Regions from separate parts of the Homo sapiens genome. Here all the other regions are linked to region 3. Evidence: promoter capture Hi-C in human tissues and cell types (Jung and others, 2019). All regions are on one chromosome and are shown on one strand. The core of a region is centred on a gene start or on the middle of the fragment in contact, and the rest is flanking DNA. Distances in the headings are between cores, read along the strand shown.

Evidence for each region. Contacts are between HindIII fragments. The study calls those that stand out against the background at their distance.
Region 1: the fragment with the promoter of SOX10 here is called in contact with the fragment with the promoter of GCAT in region 3 in 4 of the 25 tissues and cell types used here (lymphoblastoid cells, mesenchymal stem cells, ovary and 1 more).
Region 2: a contact is called between the fragment with the promoter of CDC42EP1 here and the fragment with the promoter of GCAT in region 3, in 1 of the 25 tissues and cell types used here (pancreas).
Region 4: a contact is called between a fragment that was not itself captured here and the fragment with the promoter of GCAT in region 3, in 1 of the 25 tissues and cell types used here (thymus).

The regions. Positions count from the first base shown.
Region 1 is chr22:37,980,274-37,986,631 of GRCh38, forward strand. SOX10 (SRY-box transcription factor 10) reads right to left here and starts at 4,282. Exons shown (of 4, transcript NM_006941.4): 1 at 4,066-4,282; 2 at 3,084-3,595. The coding sequence starts at 3,511. It also overlaps a transcript of POLR2F not described here. RefSeq lists enhancers at 2,551-3,388, 5,343-6,177. The HindIII fragment of the contact is 28,697 bases long and covers 1-6,358 here.
Region 2 is chr22:37,557,170-37,563,099 of GRCh38, forward strand. CDC42EP1 (CDC42 effector protein 1) reads left to right here and starts at 3,311. Exons shown (of 3, transcript NM_152243.3): 1 at 3,311-3,419. RefSeq lists enhancers at 3,947-4,553, 4,554-5,161, 4,630-4,859, 5,162-5,768. The HindIII fragment of the contact is 19,033 bases long and covers 1-5,930 here.
Region 3 is chr22:37,805,483-37,812,142 of GRCh38, forward strand. GCAT (glycine C-acetyltransferase) reads left to right here and starts at 2,452. Exons shown (of 9, transcript NM_014291.4): 1 at 2,452-2,681; 2 at 4,545-4,675. The coding sequence starts at 2,486. It overlaps H1-0 (H1.0 linker histone), which reads left to right. Exons shown (of 1, transcript NM_005318.4): 1 at 1-1,950. The coding sequence starts at 63. The coding sequence ends at 647. RefSeq lists an enhancer at 143-838 and a silencer at 2,267-2,556. The HindIII fragment of the contact is 28,064 bases long and covers 1-4,267 here.
Region 4 is chr22:38,059,545-38,066,139 of GRCh38, forward strand. It overlaps PICK1 (protein interacting with PRKCA 1), which reads left to right. Exons shown (of 13, transcript NM_012407.4): 4 at 5,458-5,586. Among named protein-coding and RNA genes, the nearest start is that of PICK1, 5.4 kb to the left of the region's middle. The HindIII fragment of the contact is 9,593 bases long and covers 1-6,595 here.

The sequences.
Region 1 (6,358 bases), core at 3,032-5,531, 180 kb after region 3:
GCTCCGCCAGCAGTGGACCCCAACAGAGGGGCTTCTGGGATGGCTGGGGACATGGGACACAGAGCTCACTCTTTCACCTATCCTTCCCTTGCCCCCTGCCCAGCTGGCAGCCAGCATCAGCAAGAAAGTGACAGGGGCCAGAAGAGAGAGAGGATTCCAACATCGGATTCCGCTGCTACCTCCTAAGCTAGTTCCCAGCATTAGCCTAACCCTGACAGAAATCTAAGCCTGGGGCCACTGCCATCCCCGACCCCAGCTCCCTCCTCCACCAGCTGTGCCGGACAGCTGATTCCACCTCCACCCCAACCCCAAGCCCAGCCTGCCCACCATGTAAACCCAATCTCCAGCACCAGTCCCCACTCAACATTACCAGCCCCAAACCCCCAACTTCGCCTCCAGCTCTAACTCCAAACCCAGTCCTCATCTGCACCTTCCTGTCAGCCCTCTTTCTCCCTGGTCTCCCAGGTTTGGAATGGGGGCAAGAAGAGGTAGGCTGATTCCTCACCCAAACTGGAAACCCCAACCGGGGACCTCCCACAGTGGGGCACTGATTGCTGCTACCTGTGTCCTGCTAGGCCAGGGGCATAAGAAGACTACTTGGGGAAGGGGCCTGTGGCACTGGGAACAGAGGCTGGGTGACCCCCACCACACAGGAGGGACTCTTGCCTGTGTCCGCCTTTCCAGTTTCTTGGCTCTGGTTCTTTCCAGGCAGATCAGCCAACCCACAGGCACCACCCTGTGATCAGCCTCAACTAGCCCCTCCCCAGATGGGCATCAAAGGTTAGAATGACTGTTGGGGCTGACACGGCCCCTTAGGACCTGGGCTCCAGTGTGTCTGATCCCACACTCCCTTGGGGCACTCCACACAGTCTGTGTGTATCTTTCTCTTTTTGGTTTTAAGACACCTGTTTTCCAGCTCTGCCTACCTAACCACCCCACTTCTTGACATCCCAGGAGTCACAGCTTGGGGAGGTTTCAGGAGAAGCCCCTGGAGCAATTGGCCAGCCCAGCCCAAATCCAAATGTCTCTCAGGACCCCCCTCCAGGGTCCAGGGAGCCACCCTCTGTTGGCATTGCCTTTGATCCTTGCCATGGTTCTGGCCCCATCCTCCCATTGGGATTGGGTCCTCAGCAAGTAGTGCCAGTTTTCCTGACTGCCACACCTCAGGCTGGCCCCTGTGCACACAGCTTGAGTGATGGCCAAGAATAAGTCCTCCTGAAGGGAGTCCAAGCCCAGGGTTCTGGGCTGGGGGAACCTGGGGACAGGGACAATGGAGGAGCCAATCTTAAACCCTTGGCAATGGGAGATGGAGGGAAAATGAGGTCCGTCCTTGCTTTGACTCTCGTTGGGCTCGTACTGTGGTCTTCTCATGGTCCCCAGAGTCTGCCCTATCTGTATGTCTCTCCTGGTTGTCTGTTTCTCACTTGCTCTTTGTCCCCTGGCACTAAAGATACTGGCCTGGGCCAAGCCCCACCCAGATCTGGATGGACCTTGGGTGGAGGAGCTAGCTGTGACCTCTGCTCTTGGGCAGAACTGGGCTGTCTGGGTCCACACAGCGGGCTGGTCGCTGAGCCCTGGGCCTGCCCTGGGTGAGCAGGGCACTGAGGGCTGAGAAGGGGCAGGGGAAGGGGCACCAGGTCTTCAGCAAACACATGGCAAGAACAGGCCAGGGGGCGGGATGTGAATCTTTTGGTCTCTTGGAGATCCTCCTGCACCTTCTACCACTCTAAGCCTCTAGACCCAATCTCTACCCAACTGTGGCTGGCAAGGGGGAGGGCAGCGGAAGAGAGCCGGGCTCCTCTGACAAAGCCCTAATTTTCTGGAACCCAGATGCTCCTCACTCTTGTTCTCATCTTCTTGCTTCCCCCCAACCTCCTGACCACTCCTCAAAGTGTAGGTGATCCACCACTGTCACCAGGGTCAGGGGAAGTCCTCTGGACAGAGAGTATGGGAGTCCTGGGTTCTGGCCCTGGCTCTGCTACCAACTTCTATGTGACCTTTGTGATTCCTTTGCCTTTCTGGGCCTGTCTCTTGGTCAGTCTAGCGAGAATCAGGTGACTGCTACCGGCTCACATCTCCTGGAGTCCCTGGTCTCTTTCAGAGCTGCTCTGGCACTCCCGGGTGGGAGTGGGGGACTGTCTTGTTCCACACATCCCCAGGAGGCCTGGCTGAACCCCAGACCTGAGTCGAGGGTGGGATAATTGCTCCCTGCGGGGGATGTTTTTCCTAGAGGTGTGGGCTGGTCCCAGGGAACCTGGGACTCTGAGGGCCCCTGGGCAGGAAGGAGGCCAAGGTTTCCTTCTGGCCAGAGTGCTCAGCTCCAGCTCTGGGGCAGTGGGGAAGAGGTTGCTCAACGTTGGGGTGGGGCCCTGGCAGGGAAGATGGCGCCGAACTGGGAGAGGGAGGAAAGAGATCAGCTTGGTGACTCTGGGGCAGGGCAGGAGGGGGAGCCCCTTACTGTGTGTCCTCTCCCTAGGAGGATGAAGAAGCCCCCAACTCAAAGGAGGGTGGCGTCAGAAAGTCCCAGGGAAGAGCCCTAGGATAGGATGAGGTCCCGCAGCAGCAGATTTGTCCCGCAGTTCTTCATCCCTCACTCTTCCAAAGACTCTCATCTGAATTCCGTTTTCTTTAAACCTCCCCTGAGTTCTCCATCTGACTGCCTCAGTTTCCCTGAATCTCCAGCCAACCCTTTGGTTCTTTCCAAGCGTTTCCCTCGTATCCTCCTGACCACAGCAGCTGGTGGCATAGTGTGCGTATCTGTGGGCAGGAGTTAGTGAAGGCCTCCTTCCCTCCCTCCAAAGCCCCAGGCCCCACGGTCTGCCACCCGCAAAATTCCAACCACGAGGGGGCGCCTTCCTGCCCGCCGCCCCGTAGGGAGACCCGGCCTAGGCCGCTGGAGTTCCGAGTTCCAGGGTCCTTGTGATGGAAGGGCGGGCGCGGCCCCCACACCTGGTCTTCCAGCCCTATCCAAGGAGGACTGCCAGACAGTCCCGCTCTGAGGTGCAGGAGGCCGGGCCGCCTCGGCTACCCTGAATCCACCCGAAGCTAGAGGGCCCGAGCCCGGGGGGCGGTCGGGTGCTCACCTCCAGAGCTTGCCCAGCGTCTTGCTGAGCTCAGCGTTGTGCAGGTGCGGGTACTGGTCCGCGAGCTTCCTGCGCGCTGCCTGAGCCCACACCATGAAGGCGTTCATGGGCCGCTTGACGTGCGGCTTGCTTTTGCTGGCGCCGTTGACGCGCACGGGCATGGGCACCAGCGTCCAGTCGTAGCCGCTGAGCACCTGGCTGACGGCCTCGCGGATGCACACGGGGAACTTGTCATCGTCCGCCTCGCCGTCCTGCTGCTCCTTCTTGACCTTGCCCAGCTCGCCTGGCCCCGGGCTGGCTCGCAGGCCCGATCCGCCGCCGCCGCCGTCGGGCCCTAGCGAGGGCGCGCTCCCCGGGGACAGGCAGCGGGGCTCCTCCGAGCCCACGGGGCTCAGCTCCACCTCCGATAGGTCCTGCTCCTCCGCCATGTCGCCCCCGGCCGCCGCCGCCGCCGCCTCGGCCGCCTCCCCCGGGCCAGCCGCCGGGGTCCTCGCAAAGAGTCCAACGCCCACCTGGATGGAAGGAGGGCGCGATGGAGCGGCCGCGCGCGCAGCCCCGAGGGCGGCCCGAGACAGGACGTGGGCACAGCCCCGAGGTGGCGGCCCTTCCTGCTCCAGCTAAACCCATCTGGCCCCTGGGGCCCACGCACATGCCAGACTCTAGGTGGGTGCGTCCCGCCTCTGTGTCTTCCCACCACCTGGTCCCAACCGTCTCTTGGTGTGGGTGGCTTTTTTTTTAGCCTCCTTTTTTGGGTGGAGGTTTGTTGATGATAAGGAAGAAAAAAACGGAGCCTTTATTTTGCTCTAATCCCGGCCCCTGGAATTTCCCACCTTTTCTCTCACCTTTCCTTCTTCCCTCAGCCTGCCCCAACGGGGTTTAGAGGAGAGCCAGGTGGGGGGCAAGGGCGGGGTGTCGCCTCTCTCCACCTCACAGCAGGGTCCCAGGCCTGGGCGGGCCAGGGAGGAGCAGGCTGCGCACTCACCTCCTCGGACCTCTCCTCCAGTCTGGGGCTCGTCCTTAGGAAGTGGAAAACCGTGTCCCAAGGTGTGCGGTCCAGCTCGGGGCTGGGAGGTGACGCTGGTGGGCTGGGAGGGAGGGGCGGGGGGCCCTGAGCCTCAGGCCACGGCCTCGTTAGGACGGAGCCTGAATCCTTACCACCAACCACCCTGGCCGGACAGCCCGAGACTGACTGAGCGACTGAGCCTGAGCCGCTGCGGAGGGCTGGGGAAGGAAGGAGGGGGAGAGGGGGGAGGGGAGAGGAGGGAGGGAAGGGCAGAAGGTGGAGCCTCCAGGCTTTCCTTCATCCCCAACACTCAGGGCTCCTCCACCCGGAGCCCAGGCCCCCCCACCCAGCTCCCTGCCCTACTGCCCAGGCCCATCTTGCTGAGGCTTATCTTGGGCTTAGTCTGGGAGGTGGAGGGGAGGTTAGGCCGAGGAAGGAAGAGATGTAGGCTGGAGGGTCAGAACCTGTTGGATGGAAGAAAATTGGGCCCAACCAGGACTCCTAACGTCTGCCTCAGGTGGCAGGATGGGCACTTGGCAGGGGACTAGGGAGAGACGTGAAGGCGGTGAGGGTCCTGGGGGCCCGTGAGGGTGGCTGGCCCTAGCTGCTTCGTCTGCGAAATCCTGTTGAGTGCCTAGTGTGTGCCAGGCACTGATGCCCAGCTCCTCACCCTGCCTCCTACCTTTTCCCAGGCAGCCCTTTCTGCCCCATCCTGCACAGTAAGAGAGACTTCTCAGGGATCCCTCTGAGAAGTGCAGAGCCCCAGCTTGACCCCTGGTCCCTTCTCTGCAGACACCCAGCACACGCGCGTTCTGGTCTGGTTCAAGGTGGAAACACAAGACTAAAGCTGCCAGGAGGCCAAGGTGGGACAGGTTGGGGGCCCTCTCTCAGTAGGTCTTAGAGGCATTTTGGGTTGCTACCTACTGGGACCCAGCTCCTTCCACACTGGGCTCACCCTGTCTTGGGAGAGGGTAGGGGAGTCCTAGTCCTGATTGTCACGAAGTCCTCTACTCCCCCACCCCAACAAGGGGTGGGGACTTGCCCTGCCTCTTCCCTCCTCTGCCCACCTCTCCCTCCCTCCCCTTTTCTTTCCTGCCCATCCTCCGTTGACACCTTTTTCTCTCTCTTTCCTTGGCCTCTCCTCCAAAGGTCGCAGTGCTGTTCTCTTAACTGAGGGCAGCCCCGCCGGGGTGTTGAGGCCGAGGTGGGGTGTATGTGGGTTATGTAATGGAGCTGGGGTCGCATTGGCAACCATGTGACGTTCTGAGCTCCTCAACAGCAGGGCAAAGCCCCAAGACCACCCCAAGGGGTCCTGTCTGGAGTGGGCTGCAAAGGGTCTGGGGAGGCAAGGCCTCATGCTTGGGAAAGTCCAAAGGGGTGTAGGGGGTGGGAAATGGGACACAATGAGGTAGTCACACGAGGCAGAGGCATGTTGGGGGTGGGGGGAGCAGACACTGGAACACACACACACACACACACACACACACACACACATGCTCACACACACAACCAGCCAGACAATCGGGCCAGTGTGTCTGGGGCCTCGGAGCCCAGTGAATTAGGAGTTTGATAAGGGTTTTCTCTTTCTCTCGCTTGCTGGCCTTGGACAATCTCCCCCCAGTTTTCCTCGACGCCACCCCCGGCGCTGCCAACCCTCCTCCCCCCGCCTCCCTTCTCTTCCCTGTGCCCAGACTCTTGTTCGGGGCCTTGAAACAGTGAGCTGTCTTTGTTCGAAATACAGGTGAACGGCAATCATGTGATTAACACACACACACATAAAAAGCTTTTTAACAGCGCCCGCTCGGCCTCAGAACCGCCCGGAGAGGAGCCGCCCTGGATGGACAGAGGGACGAGGGACGAGCATCTGCCGTCGTGTCCCGGCTGCCCTGCAGTCGCCTCCAACACCCGCTGCTGCCCGCCCGCTGCCTGCCTGCCTGGCATCTCTCTCTCCCGGTGGGTCCCCACTCATCCTTCCACCCCTCAGTTCCTCCTCTTTGAGGAAAGGACCTCCCCGCTCTCTGCTGTGTCTGTGACTGGCCTGAGACCCGCCTGGGGCAGGAGGGGTGGTTGTGGAAGGAAAGAGCCCAGAGTTAGGAGGTGGAATGTGGGGTCCCACAGCTGCCCCCTCTCTAACTCCCTGCTTCCTCCTTTGCCCTCCTTGGTCCAGCTGTGCCAGGATGGGGGTGGGGGTAGCAGTGGGCACGCTCTGTCTGCAGGAAGCCACGCTAGACAGAAGGGGCCACTCCCTCTCTCTCTCCCTTGTCCCCGCACA
Region 2 (5,930 bases), core at 2,061-4,560, 250 kb before region 3:
AGATCCTTAAATCAGGAGTGGAGCCAGGAACAAGGGCACAGCCTACATGGAGATAGGTTTCTATCTGGAGGCAGGCTGCAAAGGAGGGAGAGGGCTCCTCTCTGCCTCAGCTTACCCAGATGTAAAAGGGGGCAAGAATTCCTGATTCACAGGTTGCCTGTCAATGAGCTGGAGAAGACAAAGCGTGTGGCATATATAGTAGGGAGGTTCTCAACCTCTTGTTCTTTCCTGCCTGCCCTCCCTGCCCGCGGGTGAAGAAGATGGAGCAAGCATGGGGCAGGTTGTAACCACTTCCATCAGGACTGCTTGCTCAGTCATCTGCCTGGGGCTCACAACACCCCAACTAGTAAATACCCACACTGCTATTATACCCATTTCAGAGATGAGAAACTTGAGGCTCAAATGGGCCAAGTGCTTTGCCCACGGTCAGCCACTGGGCCAGGATTTGAGCTCAGGGCCTTTGACATTGCACCAGACTGCCTCCTTTACCAGCCGCTCTAGGGATCCTCTGACTAGAGTGACGTGTAATTGATTGTCTAACCAGGTCACCTTTGAGAATGAAAGGAAGTGCTATTAATAATTACACTGGAACAGTATGTGTAATCTGGGCTGTCCTAGGCAAACTGGAAAGTATGGCCATCCTGCCAAAGTAGGGAGCTTTACGCAAATCACTTCACTTATCTGCAAAAGGGACACCATGGCAGGACTTTCCCTATGGGGCTCTCACAAGAATTAAATGTCATAATGCATGTTAATGAGCTACAGGACCTGGTATGCATCAGGTGCTCAATAAGTGCTGGTTACTACTGATGCTATTAATAGTAATAACCACAGTAGCACTAGTTCTTTGTTTCCATCACTGTCCTTCCAGTCCATTCTTCACTCACAGTCAGATTTCTATTTTGTTTTTTGTTTTTTTGAGATGGGGTCTCGCTCTGTCGCCCAGGCTGGAGTGCAGTAGCACGATCTCAGCTCACTGTAACCTCCGTCTCCCAGATTCAAGCAATTCTCCTGCCTCTGCCTCCTGAATAGCTGGGATTACAGGCGCCCACCACTATGCCCGGCTAATTTTTGGTATTTTTAGTAGAGACAGGATTTCACCATGTTGGCCAAGCTGGTCACGAACTCCTGACCTCAAGTGATCTGCTCGCCTCGGCCTCCCAAAGTGCTGGGATTACAAGTGTGAGCCACCGCGCCCGGCACTTTTTTATTTTTATTTTTTAAGATGGAGTCTCGCTCTGTTGACCAGGCTGGAGTGCCGTGGTGCGATCTCAGCTCACTGCAACCTCCGCTTCCCAGGTTCAAGCAATTCTCCCTGCCTCAGCCTCCCGAGTAGCTGGGATTACAGGCACCCGCCACCACGCCTGGCTAATTTTTGTATTTTTAGTTGAGACGGAGTTTTACCATATTGGTCAGGCTGGTCTCAAACTCCCAGCCTCAAGTAATCTGCCCACCTCAGCCTCCCAAAGTGCTGGGATTACAGGCGTGAGCAACCACGCCGGGCAACAGTCAGTCTTCTAAATGTACACCTGCCAGTGCTGCCTGCTGGCTCACTGTCCTGATGCTGTTCCAGTTCTCCATGGGACAAAATACTCCTGGGCCGGCCCCCAGGGAAAGAGTTCCTACTGCTGTGCCACTTGAGCAAATGCTAGAATGCTTTGTGCCTCTGTTTCCTCATTTGTCCAGCTGCAGAAATAGCTCCTTCCCTTGGTGGCCAGCATGGGGATTCAGGGAGCCAGTGGAAGAGGCCTAGCCCCTGGGTGAACAGTAAAGACCTTGTCTCCTCCACCTGCGGGTAAATACAGCTCCTCATCCCCGGCCACAACAGCGCTCAGCCAGTCTCCTTCAGCCGGGTTTGCCTCCGCTGCAGGGTCCTCCACTCCCAGCCTTTGCTGTGCTGTCCCTTGCCAGCTGTGCACTGTGCATTTCCACTGCCCTTCCCTCTGCCTACACGTCCTTTAAGACTTAACTCACAACCATGCAGTGGCTCACACCCATAATCCTAGCACTTGAGGAGGCCAAGGCAGGCGGATCACCTGAGGTAAGGAGTTCAAGACCAGCCTGGCCAACATGGTGAAGCCCCCTCTCTACTAAAAAATACAAAAATTAGCCGGGCGTGGGTGGGTGCCTGTAATCCCAGCTAGTCCGGAGGCTTAGGAGGGAGAATCGCTTGAACCCGGGAGGTGGAAGCTGCAGTGAGCTGAGATCATGCCATGGCACTCCAGCCTGAGCAACAGAGAGAGACTCCGTCTCAAAAAAAAAAAAAAAAAAAAAAAAAAAAAAAAAAAAAAAAAAAAGAGAGAGAGAGAGACTTAACTCAGGTATCATCTCCTCTAGGAAGATTTCCTGAGCCCCCAGGCCCTGCAGGAAGTATTAGGGACCTCTCTGTGCCCTGACAGCCCGAGGACTCTATAGTCAGATGGGAGTAGTCAAAGGAGGGCACAACAACGGGAGGCAGGGGCCAGAGATCTATCTCCCCTCCTTGAGGATGGCACAGGGTCCCGGGTATGGCTGATTCCCTGCCCTCCATGGAGGTGGGCGGGGTGGGGGGAGGGTCTGTAAAGTCTCTGAGATGCGACTTCATTTACCTGCCGAGCAAGCCTCCTAGGTGCTCTTGGAGCAGGAAACACTTCACACAACATCTGATGCTGCTATTATCTATCCCACTTTCAGATCAGGAAACTGAGGCAGAGAAAGGTAAGTAGTGACTGAGGCAGGACAGGAGCCCAGGCTGTCCGGCTCCAGGGTCCCGGTCTTGACGGCCACTCTACCCCACTCTACCAGTCGCCCCAGTATGGCTGTCTTCCTCCTGGGCACCGCGGGGCCTGTACCGGATGGAAGGGAATGAGAATGGGGAGCAAAGGAGTGGGCATGTCATGCCTGTAAACATCAAGGTTTAAAGGCCCAGGCATTCAAGGCCTCAGATCGAGCTTCCCGGTTCCCCGAACTCCCGCAGGGCGCGGCTGGAGGGCCCAGGAGGGAGGAGAGTTCATCAGGCCTGGACGCCCCAAGCAAGGCCACGAGGGGAACCGGTGGAAGAGGGGTTGGCGGCCGGGGACCGGAGTCGCCTCCCCGGGGCAGCCCGCACGTTCCCCGGCTGGCCTTGTCCGGGGTGGCGAGCAGAGGCCTGGCCTGGCCCCCCAGCCGCGTCCCTGCCAGCTCTCGGCGGCCGCGAGGACGGTGCCGGGGAGGGGGCCGGGGAGGGGGCCGGGCCCCGCCCGCGGGCGGGAGGAGACGGGCGGGAGGCGGGAGCGCCCACACCCCGCCCCCGCCCCCGGATCCAGCCCGCGGAGCCCGCGGCCAGGGCGGCGCAGACCGGCCCAGCGACTCTCCCGGGCTGCCAGCCGGGACGCGCGGCCGCCGCCGCTGCAGACGACGAGTCCGCCCTCGTCCCGCGCCCCCGGGGCTCGCGGAGCCAGGTAACAGCCCGGGCGCGCGGGTCCTCGGGGCGGAGGCCGTGGAGGCCGGCGGGTCCCGGCGCCCGCGGGGACTCTGCACCCTACTAGGCTCCCGGGGCCGGAACGGGGACGGGACCCGCCCGGGAGAGGCGCCCCCGGGTGCCCACAGGAAGGCCGGGCGCGGCCGCGGAGCCGCGCGAGGAAACTCCGAGCTTTCGGGCTTCGTGTCCCGTTCCAGGCTGGTGGAGGGGGCAGAGGATCGGACACGGCTGAGCGGCCAAAATGCGCGAGGAGGGGGCGAGCCGAGGGGCAGAGCGGGGGCTGTCTCCGCGCCTTCCTGCGCGGGGGAAGGAAGGGCCGGGGCGGGCAGCGGGCGACGCGGCGGAATGTCTCCCCTCCGCCGAGGCCCACGCGGAGAGCGGGAAGTGGGGGGTGGGGGGCCCGGGGAGATGGACAGGCACCCTGCCCCCCTCCCCGACCGCCGCATTCCAGGCTGGAGCCGCGGATGAGGTCATCCCGTCCGGTTCCCCTCCGGCCAAGACAGCCGGTCGTCCCCTTCCCCCGCGGAGCGACCCTCCGCGTCCTGAGCCCCGTCCCCCCAGGGAATGTTGGATGGCCGAAGTCTTTCCCGGACTTCCAATCCCGGCCGCCCTCCAGATTGTTCTGCCTTTGCCCCAGCAGTGCCAGACCCGCAACATTCGAAGCCCTTTTCCTAGACCGGGAAACTGAGGCTTAGAGAGTAGGGGGGACTGGCCGGGAGGCCGCAGCGGCACTAAACGTGGCGCGGGGACCCGAGACGCGGCCCGCAGCCGCTCCGTCTCGCTCGGTCCCGGGCTGGTTCGGCTCTAACTCGGGGCGGTGGGCACGAAGCGCGTCTCCTTTCCACTTTCCCCGTCGCTCCCTAATGGCCCACGGTGCCCCCCTTGGAATACGGAGGACCGGGTCCCCTAGCGCGACTGCGAACAACTAGCTACCCCGTTCTGGCCTCAGTTTCCCCGTCTCTCCACCTTGAAGCGTCTGGACTTTGAGGAGCAGGAGAAGTCAGCCGACCGGTTTAACCCCTTATTCCAGGGACCAGAGCAGGTTTGGGGGAGCTGCCGTAACCATGACAGGGACCCGCTGTCCAGCGGTGGGGGGGGGCGTCACCCAGCTGGATGCCCGCAGGAAGTGGGCTGTGTGCACCCGAGCAGTGGCCTCCAGGATGAGACGTGGGCCCCTGGCCAGCACTGCGGCCTGCGGGTGACCCCCAGGTGAATGCCAGGGTGCAGCCGCCCCCGCTCTCCTTCAGACCCGCCCTTGGCCTCCCCGCGACCACATGTGCCTCCACAGCGACCCCTGTTGGCCCGATCCCGGCTCCAAAACTTGTTCTTGCGTCATTCCCACCATTGAGTGAGCTCAGGCCATGTGCCCAGGCCCTGACTATCCTCTATAGGGTAAATATAAGGACTCCAAGGACACTGAGGCTGTGTGGTGACCTCCTTGCCCAGGTCACAGGCAGTGAATCTGCAGAGCTGGGTCTCCTGTCTTCCCAGGCCTGCACCTGCACCCCACACCGGGCTCAGCACTGGGCATCCAAGCCCTCCAAATCGTCTTCCCCATTCCCCATCGTCTTCACCCCCACCCTGGGGCATTTACCAGCAATGTTGGTCTGTGACTGAGGGTAAATGTCTCCTTTCTGAGCTTCGTTTTTTCCATCTGTGAAAGGGGTGTTCTGAACACTAACGGGCGGTGTTCCTGAGCAGGTGAGGGGAGGTGAGCCTGGCACCAGGACACTTGGAGCCCTGCTTACTCCAGTGCCAGGTGAGGCACACCTGATGGCCAGCAGTGCCCTGTGGTTGGCAGCAAGTGCCACGTGGCTGCCACCGGGGTCCCTGGAATGAGAGATGTTAGTGTAAAGGTGTCAGATTTGAACCCATGGCTGCCCTGCTCCAGTATCTGAGGGTTTCATTACATTTTCTACCCTTGCAACTCCCCTGGGAGGGGAACTGCCTGGTGTGCTGTTCCGTTTTCCACATGGGAAGACCGGGTCCCAATACCCTGCCCTCAGCTCCACAGCGCTGCAGAGTCTCTCGACCGCAGTAGGCAGGGTAGTGTGAGGGGTGGGTACTATTGGGGGGGTGCCCAGAAACATTTGAAAGATGGGATCATCGCAAGATTGGGGAGGAAGCTGGTCCCCCAAGTCAAAAGTGACCATGGGGGTTCAGGGGGGAGGAGCCCCTTTTGCTGGGAGATGAGGTGCTGCCTCAAGAAGTCAGGGAGGCCAGGTGTGGTGGTTCACACTTGTAATCCCAGCACTTTGGGAGGCTGAGGCAGCAGGATGGCTTGAGTTCAGGAATTTGAGACCAACCTGGGCAATGGAGTGAGACCCTGTCCTTACAAAAAGTGGAAAAACTTAGCTGAGCATGGTGGTATGTGCCTGTAGTCCCAGCTACTCAGGAGGCTGAGGTGGGAGGATCGCTTGAGCCTGGGAGTTCGAGGCTGCAGTTAGCTGTGATGGAGCCACTGCACTCAGCCTGGGTGACAGAGTGAGAC
Region 3 (6,660 bases), core at 1,202-3,701:
AGCCTCCGACGAGGGCTGGCCCTTTGGAAGGCGCCTTCAACAGCCGGACCAGACAGGCCACCATGACCGAGAATTCCACGTCCGCCCCTGCGGCCAAGCCCAAGCGGGCCAAGGCCTCCAAGAAGTCCACAGACCACCCCAAGTATTCAGACATGATCGTGGCTGCCATCCAGGCCGAGAAGAACCGCGCTGGCTCCTCGCGCCAGTCCATTCAGAAGTATATCAAGAGCCACTACAAGGTGGGTGAGAACGCTGACTCGCAGATCAAGTTGTCCATCAAGCGCCTGGTCACCACCGGTGTCCTCAAGCAGACCAAAGGGGTGGGGGCCTCGGGGTCCTTCCGGCTAGCCAAGAGCGACGAACCCAAGAAGTCAGTGGCCTTCAAGAAGACCAAGAAGGAAATCAAGAAGGTAGCCACGCCAAAGAAGGCATCCAAGCCCAAGAAGGCTGCCTCCAAAGCCCCAACCAAGAAACCCAAAGCCACCCCGGTCAAGAAGGCCAAGAAGAAGCTGGCTGCCACGCCCAAGAAAGCCAAAAAACCCAAGACTGTCAAAGCCAAGCCGGTCAAGGCATCCAAGCCCAAAAAGGCCAAACCAGTGAAACCCAAAGCAAAGTCCAGTGCCAAGAGGGCCGGCAAGAAGAAGTGACAATGAAGTCTTTTCTTGCGGACACTCCCTCCTGTCTCCTATTTTCTGTAAATAATTTTCTCCTTTTTTCTCTCTTGATGCTCACCACCACCTTTTGCCCCCTTCTGTTCTGACTTTATAAGAGACAGGATTTGGATTCTTCAGAAATTACAGAATAATTCATTTTTCCTTAACCAGTTGTGCAAGGACAGCAACAACCAATCTAATGATGAGAATGTACTTATATTTTGTTTTGCTATTAACCTACTTACGGGGTTAGGGATTTGCGGGGGGGGCTTGTGTGTTTTGTTGGCTTGTTTGCCATGAAGGTAGATGTGGGTGGGGAGAAGACACAAGGCAGTTTGTTCTGGCTAGATGAGAGGGAACCCAGGAATTGTGAGGTTAGCAGGAATATCTTTAGGGTGAGTGAGTTTTCTTTGAGTTGGGCACCCGTTGTGAGAGTTTCAGAACCTTTGGCCAGCAGGAGAGAGGTGGTAGGGAGCAGCCAGCCGGCAAAGGAAGGAGGGGGAAAAAAACCGCCACCGGGCTGACTTCCACCTCCCAGTGGTGAGCAGTGGGGGCCCAAACCCAGTTTCCTTCTCATTTTTGTTAGTTTGCGCTTTCGGCCTCCCTATTTTCTTAGGGAAGGGGAGTGGGGTCCAAGTGACAGCTGGATGGGAGAAGCCATAGTTTCTCCCAGTCAGCTAGGATGTAGCCATTGGGGGATCTTTGTGGCTTCAGCAAATTCTCTTGTTAAACCGGAGTGAAAACTTCAGGGGAAGGGTGGGGAGTCAGCCAAGTGCCTCAGTGTGCCCTGTTGAAACTTAGGTTTTTCCACGCAATCGATGGATTGTGTCCTAGGAAGACTTTTCTTTTCCTCTGGATTTTTGTTCCTCCTGTACAAGAGGTGTCTTTGCTTGGTTTGGTGGGGCTGCGGCCACTTAAAACCTCCCGATCTCTTTTTGAGTCCTTTATTATAAGTAGTTGTAGCTGCGGGAGGGGGAGGGGGAGTGGGCGGGCAGTGGATAGTAAGACTTACTGCAGTCGATTTGGGATTTGCTAAGTAGTTTTACAGAGCTAGATCTGTGTGCATGTGTGTGTTTGTGTATATATACATATCTAGGGCTAGTACTTAGTTTCACACCCGGGAGCTGGGAGAAAAAACCTGTACAGTTGTCTTTCTCTTATTTTTAATAAAATAGAAAAATCGCGCACTTGCGCGTCCCCCCCCCACCCCCTTTTTTAAACAAGTGTTACTTGTGCCGGGAAAATTTTGCTGTCTTTGTAATTTTAAAACTTTAAAATAAATTGGAAAAGGGAGAAACTGAGCGGTGTATTTTTCCTCACTTTGAAGACTGGAGAATGAATGCGGAGCGGTTAGGCGGGCAGGCAGTGGGGACATCTGGGGCGTTTGCACCTGAGAATGGCGGGGGAGGGTTCAGGAGCTGGACAGAAGCCAGGAATCCTTAGTCCCGGAGGCTGCGGAACGTGCCTTAGCCGGCTTCTAGGCTTCTGCCTTTGGGGTCCAGAGGGTACCCCATTTCCGGCCGAGAGGTGAGTACGTGGGAATGCGGTGGGGAGTCTGGTGGGCTTGGCCCTGACGCGACTTCCTCCGCCCCCTTCCCTCCCCTCTGCCATCCGGACTTCGGCAGTCTCAACTTACAAGTCAAGCCTCTCGGTCCCTGGCGGATCCCGCCAGGCCCCGCCCACCCGTCCTAGGCCCGCCTCCCCGCCTTTTTAAGCGAGCCCCCCTAGCTCCGATTGGCTGCTGGAGCCCGGCCCCCGGCCACGCGACCAGGCTGCGTCCGCGATGCGCACGGCTCCCAGGCAGGCAGGCGCGCTCGGGCGAGGTAGGAGCGATGTGGCCTGGGAACGCCTGGCGCGCCGCACTCTTCTGGGTGCCCCGCGGCCGCCGCGCACAGTCAGCGCTGGCCCAGCTGCGTGGCATTCTGGAGGGGGAGCTGGAAGGCATCCGCGGAGCTGGCACTTGGAAGAGTGAGCGGGTCATCACGTCCCGTCAGGGGCCGCACATCCGCGTGGACGGCGTCTCCGGAGGTAACGCTCCGTTCCGGGAGTCGTTCCAAGACCTTTCCCGAGCTTGCGCTGGAATGGAGGTCCTGGAGGTGGGGGTGGGCGGCTCCTACACTCTTAGCTACTGTTCCCCTTCGCATCTCTCAGGGCGACTTTATGGCTTCCTAATATTGACTCTTGCCTGGTTAAACCCTTTTGACGGAGGGAGGCGATTTGCCCAGCAAGAAAACCCGCATTTCTTGAGCGGCTCCTTTGTGAAGGTCTCTACCAATTGTTGCTGCACGTGAACTCCTGCTAACTTCTAGACGCAGGAATGACTAATTCCACTTTACAAACGAAGAGGCTGAAATCCACAGATGTGAAATGGCTTGCCCAAAAGCCCCCAGCTAGCTGCAGGCAGCGCTGGAATATTGGAGCTGGAACATTGCCTGACTGGCCAGAGAGGACAGCTTGCTGGGTAAACTCATAGCAAGCAAGGGGTCCCAGGGCTGCCACAGAAATCACATGATGAGTTGGCCCTGCCAGGTCTCCCTCATTTCTTTCTTTCCTTTTTTTTTTCTGAGATGGAGTCTCGTCTTGCTCTGTCGCCCAGGCTGGAGTGCAGTGGCGAGATCTCGGTTCACTGCAACCTCTGCCTCCCGGGTTCAAGCGATTTTCATGCCTCAGCCTCCCAAGTAGCTGGGACTACAGGCACGTGCCAGCACACCCGGCTAATTTTTGTATTTTTAGTGGAGACTGGGTTTCACCATGTTGGCCAGGCTGGTCTCGAACTCCTGACCTCAAGTGATCCTCCCGCCTCAGCCTCCCAAAGTGTTGGGATTACAGGCGTGAGCCACCACTCCCAGCCCTCCCTCATTTCACTCTAACCAGTGGTTACACCTGACTTATTCGTGTCAGGCCTCAGGTGAGTGGTAATCATCAACAAGCTCCCAAAGCTGCCTTCTGCCCAGGAAATAGGCATAGAACCCTTGGTGCTGTTGCACTCATTTGTAAAACAGAGGTCCCAGGTAATCCCTTCTCTCCCTCAGGGGAAGCTTAGAGCCGGTCAAAAGATGGGAAATTAGGAGACCCAAGTTCTCATCCTGTTTTTGCCTTTCCCAGGCTGTGTGAACTTTCCCCTCTGGCTGTTTGCTCCTAAGGTCAGCTGTGTTCACTCTGGGCTTTAGAATTCGGGGACTGGTATCTCAGGCACCTACCTTTGGGGGTGTGATTCTGGCAGCAAAGTAAACTGTGGAGTTCCAGGACTGCAGCAGGCGTCTGATCCAGCCCTCTTCTTTAACCCTCAAGGAAACCAAGGGGTCAGATAAGGAGTCAGTGGTGGTCTTCAGGCACAGGAGAAGCCTGTGAGGAAGGGCTGAGTTCCTCCTTGGGTAGAATGTGATTCAAAGCCAGAGTTTAGGCTGGGCACAGTGGCTTGTGCCTGAAATCGTAGCACTTTGGGAGGCCAAGGCAGGAGGATTGCTTGAGGCTAGGAGTTCGAGACCAGCACGGACAACATAATGAGACCCCATCTCTACAAAAAATAAAAAAATTTAATCGGGCATGGTGGCACGCACCTGTAGTCCCAGCTACTCAGGAGGTTAAGTGGGAGGATTGCTTGAGCCTGGGAGGTTGGGGCTACAGTGAACCATGATTGCACCACTGTACTCCAACCTGGGCGACAGAGCTAGACCCTGTCTCAAAAAAAAAAAAGTTTAAACTTCTTGCTCTTCAAGATGTGTAGCACTGACGCTCCTTCTGTAGCTGTTGAATTTGGTGCCTCCTCAATGGTGACTCCAGGTCTGTTTCCTTTCTGGACCATTTCCCCAGGGCCTGGCACTGTCATCTTTCCAGGCCTGCCCTTGCCCCACCTGAGCTGCTGTATCCATCTCCTCTCCTTCACCTCAGGAATCCTTAACTTCTGTGCCAACAACTACCTGGGCCTGAGCAGCCACCCTGAGGTGATCCAGGCAGGTCTGCAGGCTCTGGAGGAGTTTGGAGCTGGCCTCAGCTCTGTCCGCTTTATCTGTGGAACCCAGGTACACAGTGAGTGGTGGGGGGTTGTGGGGACTGACCCCAGCTGCCTGCTTCCCACAGTCAGCAAGGCTGGTTTAGCCAGCTCAGCTCAGCCACAGCCCTGGGCCTACTGTTGGCCTCAGAGCTGTGCAGCAGAAAGGCTGAGTGCAGGCCTCTGTTTTGCTGAAAAGCTTTGGCCAAGGAACTTTATATATATATTTTTTCTTTTTGAGACAGAGTCTTGCTCTGTCACCCAGGCTGGAGTGCAGTGGCACAATCTTGGCTCCCTGTAACCTTCGCCTACCAGACTCAAGGGATTCTCCATGCCTCAGCCTCCTGAGTAGCTGCGATTACAGGCATGCTACCACACCCAGCTAATTTTTTTTTTTTTTTTTTTTTTGAGATGGAGTCTCGCTCTGTCGCTGAGGCTGGAGTGCGGTGGCATGATCTTGGCTACTGCAAGCTGCGCCTCCCAGGTTCACGCCATTCTCCTGCCTCAACCTCCCGAGTAGCTGGGACTACAGGCGCCTACCACCACTCCCGGCTAATTTTTTGTATTTTTAGTAGAGACGGGGTTTCACTGTGTTAGCCAGGATGGTCTCGATCTCCTGACCTCGTGATCCACCCACCTTGGCCTCCCAAAGTGCTGGGATTACAGGCGTGAGCCACCGCACTCGGCCTAATTTTTATATGTTTAGTAGAGATGGGGTTTCACCATGTTGGCCAGGCTGGTCTTGAACTCCTGGCCTCAAGTGATCTCCTCCACCTTGGCCTTCCAAAGTGGAAACTGCCTTTTTGAGCATTCATTTTCCCACCTGCAAAACAGAGTCCCTCACACCTGACCTTCTATAAGAAAAGAGGAGTAGGCGGCAGGAACTGAGACTAAGGGCTCTGGGGCTGTTCTGACGGGAGCACAGTTGCCAGTGCTGCCCTTTAGTGTCCCTGTTCCTGTGGGCAAGTATCTTAACTTTTCTCTGTCTCAATTACTTCATAGGGAAAATGAAGATAATAGCACTTAATAGGATCATTACAAATTAAAGACTTAATACATGTAATGCTTAGAATAGGCCGGGCGCAGTGGCTCATGCCTGTAATCCCAGCACTTTGGGAGGCTGATGCAGGCGGATCACCTGAGGTCAGGAGTTCAAGACCAGCCTGGCCAACATGGCGAAACCCTTTCTCTACAAAAATATAAAAATTAGCTGGCATGATGGTGGGTGCCTGTAATCGCAGCCACTTGGGAGGCTGAGGCAGGAGAATCGCTTGAACCTAGGAGGTGGAGGTTGCAGTGAGCTGAGATCACGCCACTGCACTCCAGCCTGAGCAACAGAGTGAGACTCTGTCTCAAAAAAAAAAAAAAAAAAAAAAAGCATAGAACAGCCTGGCACATAGTACTGCTCAATGAATGTTGGCTATTATTTATTTTCCAAATGTTACAAAATAAATTTATATAAGTATGAAACTTAAATAGTACTTATTATGTGCCAGGAATTCTTTTAAGAAAATTACAACTATTGGCCAGGCGTGGTGGCTTATGCCTGTAATCCAGGCACTTTGGGAGGCCGAGGTGGGTGGATTACTGAGTTCAAGACCAGCCTGGCCAACATGGTGAAACCCTGTCTGTGCTAAAAATACAAAAATTAGCTGGCCGGGCTCGCTTGAACCCATGAGGCAGGGGTTGCAGTGAGCCACGACGGTGCGACCACACTCCAGCCTGGGTGACAGAGGGAAACTCTGTCTCAAAAAAAAAAAAAAAAGAACATTACAAGTATTAACTCATTAATCCTAAGTGATAGTTGCTATTCTTATTCCCGCTATTGAGATGAGGACACTGAGATCCAGAGAGGTTAAGTGACTTGCCCAGAGGCACACAGCCTGTTGTGGGATTTGAACCCTGGCTCAAGAGTCCATGCTGGCTGGGCATGGTAGTTCACACCTGTAATCCCAATACTTTTGGAGCCCAAAGCAGAAGGATCACTTGATGCCTGGAGTTTGAGACCAGCCTGGG
Region 4 (6,595 bases), core at 2,956-5,455, 260 kb after region 3:
ACTTATTACTTGTTATTTGCCCTCTGTCTAGTAGAGTAGACTCTTTGCACTGAGGGCAGTGTCCTGGTTTGCTTTTTCACTGCAGTAAGCACCAGGTACAGTGCCTGGCACATAGTGGACATGCAATAGAAATTGACTATTGAATCAACAAAACCATCAGCCTTGCGTACTAGCCAAAATGAAGTGTCATAGGAACACGATGAAATAATGGCCTGAGTTCAAATGCAAGCTTCTTTCCTACTTACTAGCAAGTTACTTAACCTCTTTGGGCCTCAGTTTCATCACCTAGAAAGCGGGGATTTAAAACATGTAGACACAATCATCTCTGGGTTCTTGTGAGAAGTCAACAAAACGACCTAACACACTAGAAGTTAAGAAACGTGCATTGGCCAGGCATAGTGGCTCACACCTGTAATCCCAGCACTTTGGGAGGCCGAGGTGGGTGGATCACGAGGTCAGGAGTTCGAGACCAGCCTGGCCAACATGGTGAAACCCCGTCTCTACTAAAATACAAAAATTAGCTGGGCGTGGTGGTGCACGCCTGTACTTCCAGCTACTTGGGAGGCTGAAGTAGGAGAATCGCTTGAACCTGGAAAGTAGAGGTTGCAGTGAGCTGAGATCACGCCACTGCATTCCGTGCATTCCAGCCTGGGTGACCGAGTGAGACCCTGTTTCAAAAAAAAGAAAGAACCATGCATTAAGCAGTAGCTGCTGCTATTTTCCAGGTAGCTGTACATTTTCCCAGATGCTCTGCCAGTGGTGAGGAACACTCTTGTGTCTCTTGCAGAGGAAGCTGCACTGGTGATATTCTGTCCACTGTAACTCAGGAGTGGTGACAGGCCTGCTGTGGGGCCTCCTTCACTGTGTGGCTCATCCAAGTCAGTGACCTTGCTGTAGCCTTGGGAATACCTGTTCTAACCCTCTCACTGGTGGCAGATGGGAAACTGGCCTCTGTGAGGATCTTGCTCAGGAGTCGCTTGTAGGCCTCGAAGACAGATTCCCAGGATCGACCTGGTCTTGCTTCTGCTCACAGTGCTGCCTCCTTCATGAGCCATTCGGCCTCCTGTGACCCAGGAGGCATTAGCAAGACCTCCCCCAGGCCTGGCCTCCTGGCCGTGTGTCTGCTCAGCCTCTCGCCACCTCCCTCTACCTACCTCAGGTGCAAGTTTGCTTAGAATGAACAGACATCATAAAATAGTATAATTGATTTTTTTTTTTTTTTGAGACAGAGTCTCACTGTGTTGCCCAGGCTGGAGTGCAGTGGCGTGATCTCAGCTCACTGCAACCTCTGCCTCCTGGATTCAAACGATTCTCATGCCTCAGCCTCCCGAGTAGCTGGTATTACAGGTGTGCGCCATCATGCCCAGCTAATTTTCGTATTTGTAGGAGAGAGAGGTTTTAGCTATGTTGGCCGGCCTGGTCTCGAACTCCTGGCCTCAAGCGATCCACCCACCTCAGCCTCCCAAAGTGCTAGGATTACAGGCATGAACCACCAGCCAATAAAATAATAGAACTGGCCGGGTGCGGTGGCTCACACCTGTAATCCCAGCACTTTGGGAGGCTGAGGTGGGCAGATCACCTGAGGTGAAAACTTCCAGACAAGCTTGGCCAACATGGTGAAACCCTGTCTCTACTAAAATACAAAAATTAGCCAGGCATGATGGCGGGTTCCTGTAATCCCAGCTACTTGGGAGGCTGAGACAGGAGAATCGCTTGAACCCGGGAGATGGTGGTTGCAGTAAGCCGAGATCGTGCCATTGCACTCCAGCCTGGGCAGTTGAGTGAGACTCCGTCTCAAAAATAATAATAATCATCATCATCATAGAATTGATTTTTTTAAATTCAATTTTGTTTTTATCAAAGTGCCATATGACTTGCCTCTACCAAGTCAAGAGCATTAAAAGCCCTGTATCAAATAATAGCAATCCACTGCCCTTCCCCTGGGCACCTCACCCGGCTTTCTCTGTCTCTTCATGCATGGGCTTCCATTTTTCTCAATAGTCTCACTCTGTCGCCCAGGCTGGAGTGCAGTGGTGCAAGCATGGGTCACTGCAGCCTTGATTTCCCCAGACTCAGATGATTCTCCCACTTGAGCCTCCAAGTAGCTGGGATTACAGGCACGTGCCACCAAACCTGGCTAATTTTTGTGTATTTTTTGTAGAGACGGTGTTTTGCCATGTTGCCCAGGCTTGTCTCAAACTCTTGGGTTCAAGTGATCCACCCGCCTCAGCCTCCCAAAGTGCTGGGATTACAGGCGTGAGCCACCGTGCTCAGCCTATCCTGTTGTTTCTTGATCTATCACCTGTAAATATCTATTGACTTTGCCTCGTCTGGTAGATGAGAATTTAGTTCTTCCCATGACCAGTCTGTTTCCTCTCATCCCACCTTTCCAACATAGTTATTTTTCTATTTTTGGCTAAATTAATATTAGTACAACGGAGATTTTGTTCGGGAAATCTTTTCCAGATGCCTCCTAGGCTCTGTTGTAGGCACTAGGGATAAAAGAATAAGAAAGCAAAGATCCTACTCTTGCGGAGCCCTCATTCTAGTCAAAACAACTCTATGTTTAACTTTCTGAGGAATCTATGTTTCTTTTCTTAATTCAGCCTGTTCTTGTGTTTTGAGAGGGTGGGGGTAATTTCCTGTTTTGTTTTTTTCATTTGCACTCTCCTTGTTTTCTCAGTATGTTTTCCACAATTTCCCATCTTTTTTTTTTTTTTTTTAAATTAAGTCTTGCTCTGTTGCCAGGCTGGAGTGCAATGGCGTGATCTTGGCTCACTGCAACCTCCAGCCCCCGGGTTCAAGTGATTCCCCTGCCTCAGCCTCCGAAGTAGCTGGGATTACAGGCACGTGCCACCACGCCTGGCTAATTCTTGTATTTTTAGTAGAGACGGGGTTTCACCATGTTGGTCAGGCTGGTCTCGAACTCCTGACTTCAAGTGATCCACCTGCCTCGACCTCCCAAAGTGCTGGGATTACAGGCGTGAGCCACCATGCCCGGCCCCATTTTCTTCAGTCTGTTTTCCGCCCTGTAGTCTCTCCCCCTTGTGCCCTCCCCCTGCCCCTGCCCCTTCTCTTTGGATTCCCCCATCTTGGGGGTCCCTTTCCTGGTTTACTCCCTGATCTCCCGTGGAGAATATCCTCCTGTAGCTTTCTGAGAAAGGGCACGTGGGATGTCAATTTTTTGAGACCTCGGGTCTGTCTTTTTTGGTCATTGTGGTTCCCATATTCCTTTCAGTTGACATTTTGGCTCATTCGATTCAAGAATGAACGTCAAGGTTGACAGTAATTCCTGTGTGGAAGTGTGATGGCCTTGTCACATTGTCCTTTGCTGTCACATGGCTATTGCCATTCTTATTGGTGATCCTTTATTTGTGATGTGTTTTATTTCTGATCTGTGAGAACTTTGAGGACTTTGTTTTTGTCCCTGGTGTTGGGAGGAGTCGTGATGGTAGCTGCAGGCACAGGCTTTTGTTTATTGTGCCAGATCCTCAGAGGGCGTCATCGGGAACACCATGTCCTTCTTGTCATGTATCTCGATGATGACATCCTGCTTTCTGTATTCTCTGTTCTGCTTTTTTCTATTTTTTTATTGTGGTAAAATTTACCATCTTAACTTTTTTTTTTTTTGAGACAGGATCTTGCTCTGTCGCCCAGGCTGGAGTGCAGGGGTGCGATCATGGCTCACTGCAGCCTCAACCTCCTGGGCTCAAGCGATCCTCCCACCTCAGACCCCCGAGTAGCTGGGACTACAGGCACGCGCCACCATGCCTGGCTCATTTTTGTATTTTTTTTGTAGAGACAGAGTTTTGCCATATTGCCCAGGCGATCTTCCCACCTCGGTTTCCCAAAATGCTGGGATTACAGGTGCGCACCACCGTGCCCAGCCCTTGGTCTATTTTTGAATTAGGTTGTTTGGTTTTTGTTGTTGAGTTTTAAGAATTCTCTACAAAGCACAATCGGCTAAGAGGAAAAAAAGAAAAAAGAGTTTTAGGAATTCTGCATATATTCTGGATATTAATCCCTTATCAAAAATGTGATTTGCAAATATTTTCTCCCATTCTGTGGGTTGCCTTTCTTTTCTTCTCTTCTCTGTTCTTTTTTTTTTTTTTTTTCGAGACAGTGTCTCACTCTGTTGCCCAAGCTGGAGTACAGTGACGGGATCTCAGCTCACTGCAGCCTCTGTTTCCCAGGCTCAAGCGATCCTCCCACCTCAGCCTCCCAAGTAGCTGGGACTACAGGCGTACACCACCATGCCCAGCTAATTTTCGTGTTTTTTGTAGAGACAAGGTTTTGCCACATTGCCCAGACTGGATGGTGTATTTTGATGCACCAGTTTTAAAATTTTTATGAAGTTCAATTTGTTTATTTTTTGTTACTTGGATCTTAGGTGTCACATCCAAGAAATTACTGTAAACTCCAATGTCGTGAAGGTTTTGGACTAGGCATTTTTCTGAGTTTTATAGTTTTAACTTTTACATTTAGGTCTTTGAACAATTTTGAGTTAATTATTATTATTATTATTATCTTCGAGACAGAGTCTCGTTCTGTTGCTCAGGCTGGAGTGCAGTGACATGATCTCGGCTTACTACAACCTCCACTTCCCAGGTTCAAGCGATTCTCCTGCCTCAGCCTTCTGAGTAGCTGGGACTGCAGGCGCCTGCCACCATGCCCAGCTAATTTTTGTATTTTTAGTAGAGATGGGGTTTCGCCATGTTGGCCAGGTTACTCTCGAATTCCTGACCTCAGGTGATCTGCCTGCCTTGGCCTCCCAGAGTGTTGGAATTACAGGTGTGAGCCACTGCGCCTGGCCTTGAGTTAATTTTTGTATGTGGTGTTAAGTAGTGTCAACTTCATTTTTCACATACCATTGTTGAAATGACTGTCCTTCCCCATTGAATGTTCTTGACACCCTTGTCAAAAATCATTTGATGCCGCCGGGCACGGTGGCTCACACCTGTAATCCCAGCACTTTGGGAGGCCAAAGCAGGTGGATCACCTGAGGTCGGGAGTTTGAGACCAGCCTGACCAACATGGAGAAACCCTGTCTCTACTAAAGATACGAAATTAGCCGGGCGTGGTAGCGCATGCCTGTAACCCCAGCTACTCGGGAGGCTGAGGCAGGAGAATTGCTTGAACCCGGGAGGCGGAGGTTGCGGTGAGCGAGATGGCGCTATTGCACTCCAGCCTGGGCAACAAGAGCGAAACGCCGACTCAAAAAAAAGAAATCATTTGACTATGTATTTGAGGCAGGAGAATTGCTGGAGCCCAGGAGTTCAGTGCCACAGTGAGCTGTGATCACGCCACTGCACTCCAGCCCGGGTGGTGAGACGCTTTCTCAAAAAACGAGAGCAGAGGGTAGAGTGGAAGACAGAGCCAGGCAGTGGTCAGGTGTCTTCCCAGGTTCCATCTTAGCCCTCCCTTTCTTCCCCCACCACTCTCCTTATGCACCCACAGGTATTTGACAACACCCCAGCAGCCTTGGACGGCACAGTGGCAGCTGGCGATGAGATCACCGGTGTCAATGGCAGGTCAATCAAAGGGAAAACTAAGGTGGAGGTGGCGAAGATGATTCAGGAGGTGAAGGTAAGGGCTGCTGCAGAGCAGGTGTCCAGAGGCAGCAACACATGTTTCTGAGACCTCCAGGCTGCCAGAGGTCCCAGCAGGCCTGGAAGGGGGTATCAGCCCTCACCGCCCCCTTCCTTGTCATGTGCAGGGTCAGGGTCACACTCCAGCCTCCCTCATCCATCCCTCATTCATTCAATAAATACTAATCGTGCTCCAGGACTTGTGCTGAACCTTGGCAAGAGAGTGGGCAGCAAGACCACAAGGTCCCCATGAGCTCCCAGGGAGCTGACAGACTTGGAACCACCCCTCAGGCAAGCCCATGTGTCCCCAGTCAGTGCCAGAGCTGAAGCTAAAAGTCCAAGGTGATCCTCCCTGGGTCAGTAGACACCCAATAATGTCAGCCGGGTCACGCTGGGCCTGTGAGGGCTAGGAGGGAAAGAAGAGTGCCCTTTCCCCATCCTGTAGGAACTTTCGGTCCCACACAGCCTCCTGGGCTCATAGACACCCAGAGACCCCCCTCCCAGGCCAGCTGATCTTCTGCTCTACAGACCAGAGTCACACACTGCCTGCCCCGCTTTCCCCCACCCCTGCCGCTCCAGGACTGGAATGGCAGGCGGCATCCCGGCCTCTCCTGAAGCGAGCATGCAGCCCCTTTGCCATTTCCTAGCGAAGTGGCTGCTAGCTAGTCTCAGGAAACCAATACTGTGAAAGAACTGATGTGCAGGCAGTGCACAGCCATGGGGTGATTTGAAAGTCTCGGGGGCAAGGGTCCCCACTGTGAGTTCAGCTTGGCCAAGGGTGGCAGCTACCTCCCTCAGCCCCACTTCCATCCTCCGGGTTCTGGCACTCCTGATAGTCCGCCTTCCTGCCTTAACCCAGGCCAGCCGCTGCTCCATCCTCTCTCCCCTTTATCCTCCTGTCCTGCTCCTGAGTAGTCCGTGCTTCTCTCCTTCCTTGCTGTAGGAAGAGTCCCATCCTGCACATTCTCCTATTCCAGCCCCTTTAGCCATAGGACAAATCAGGGCCT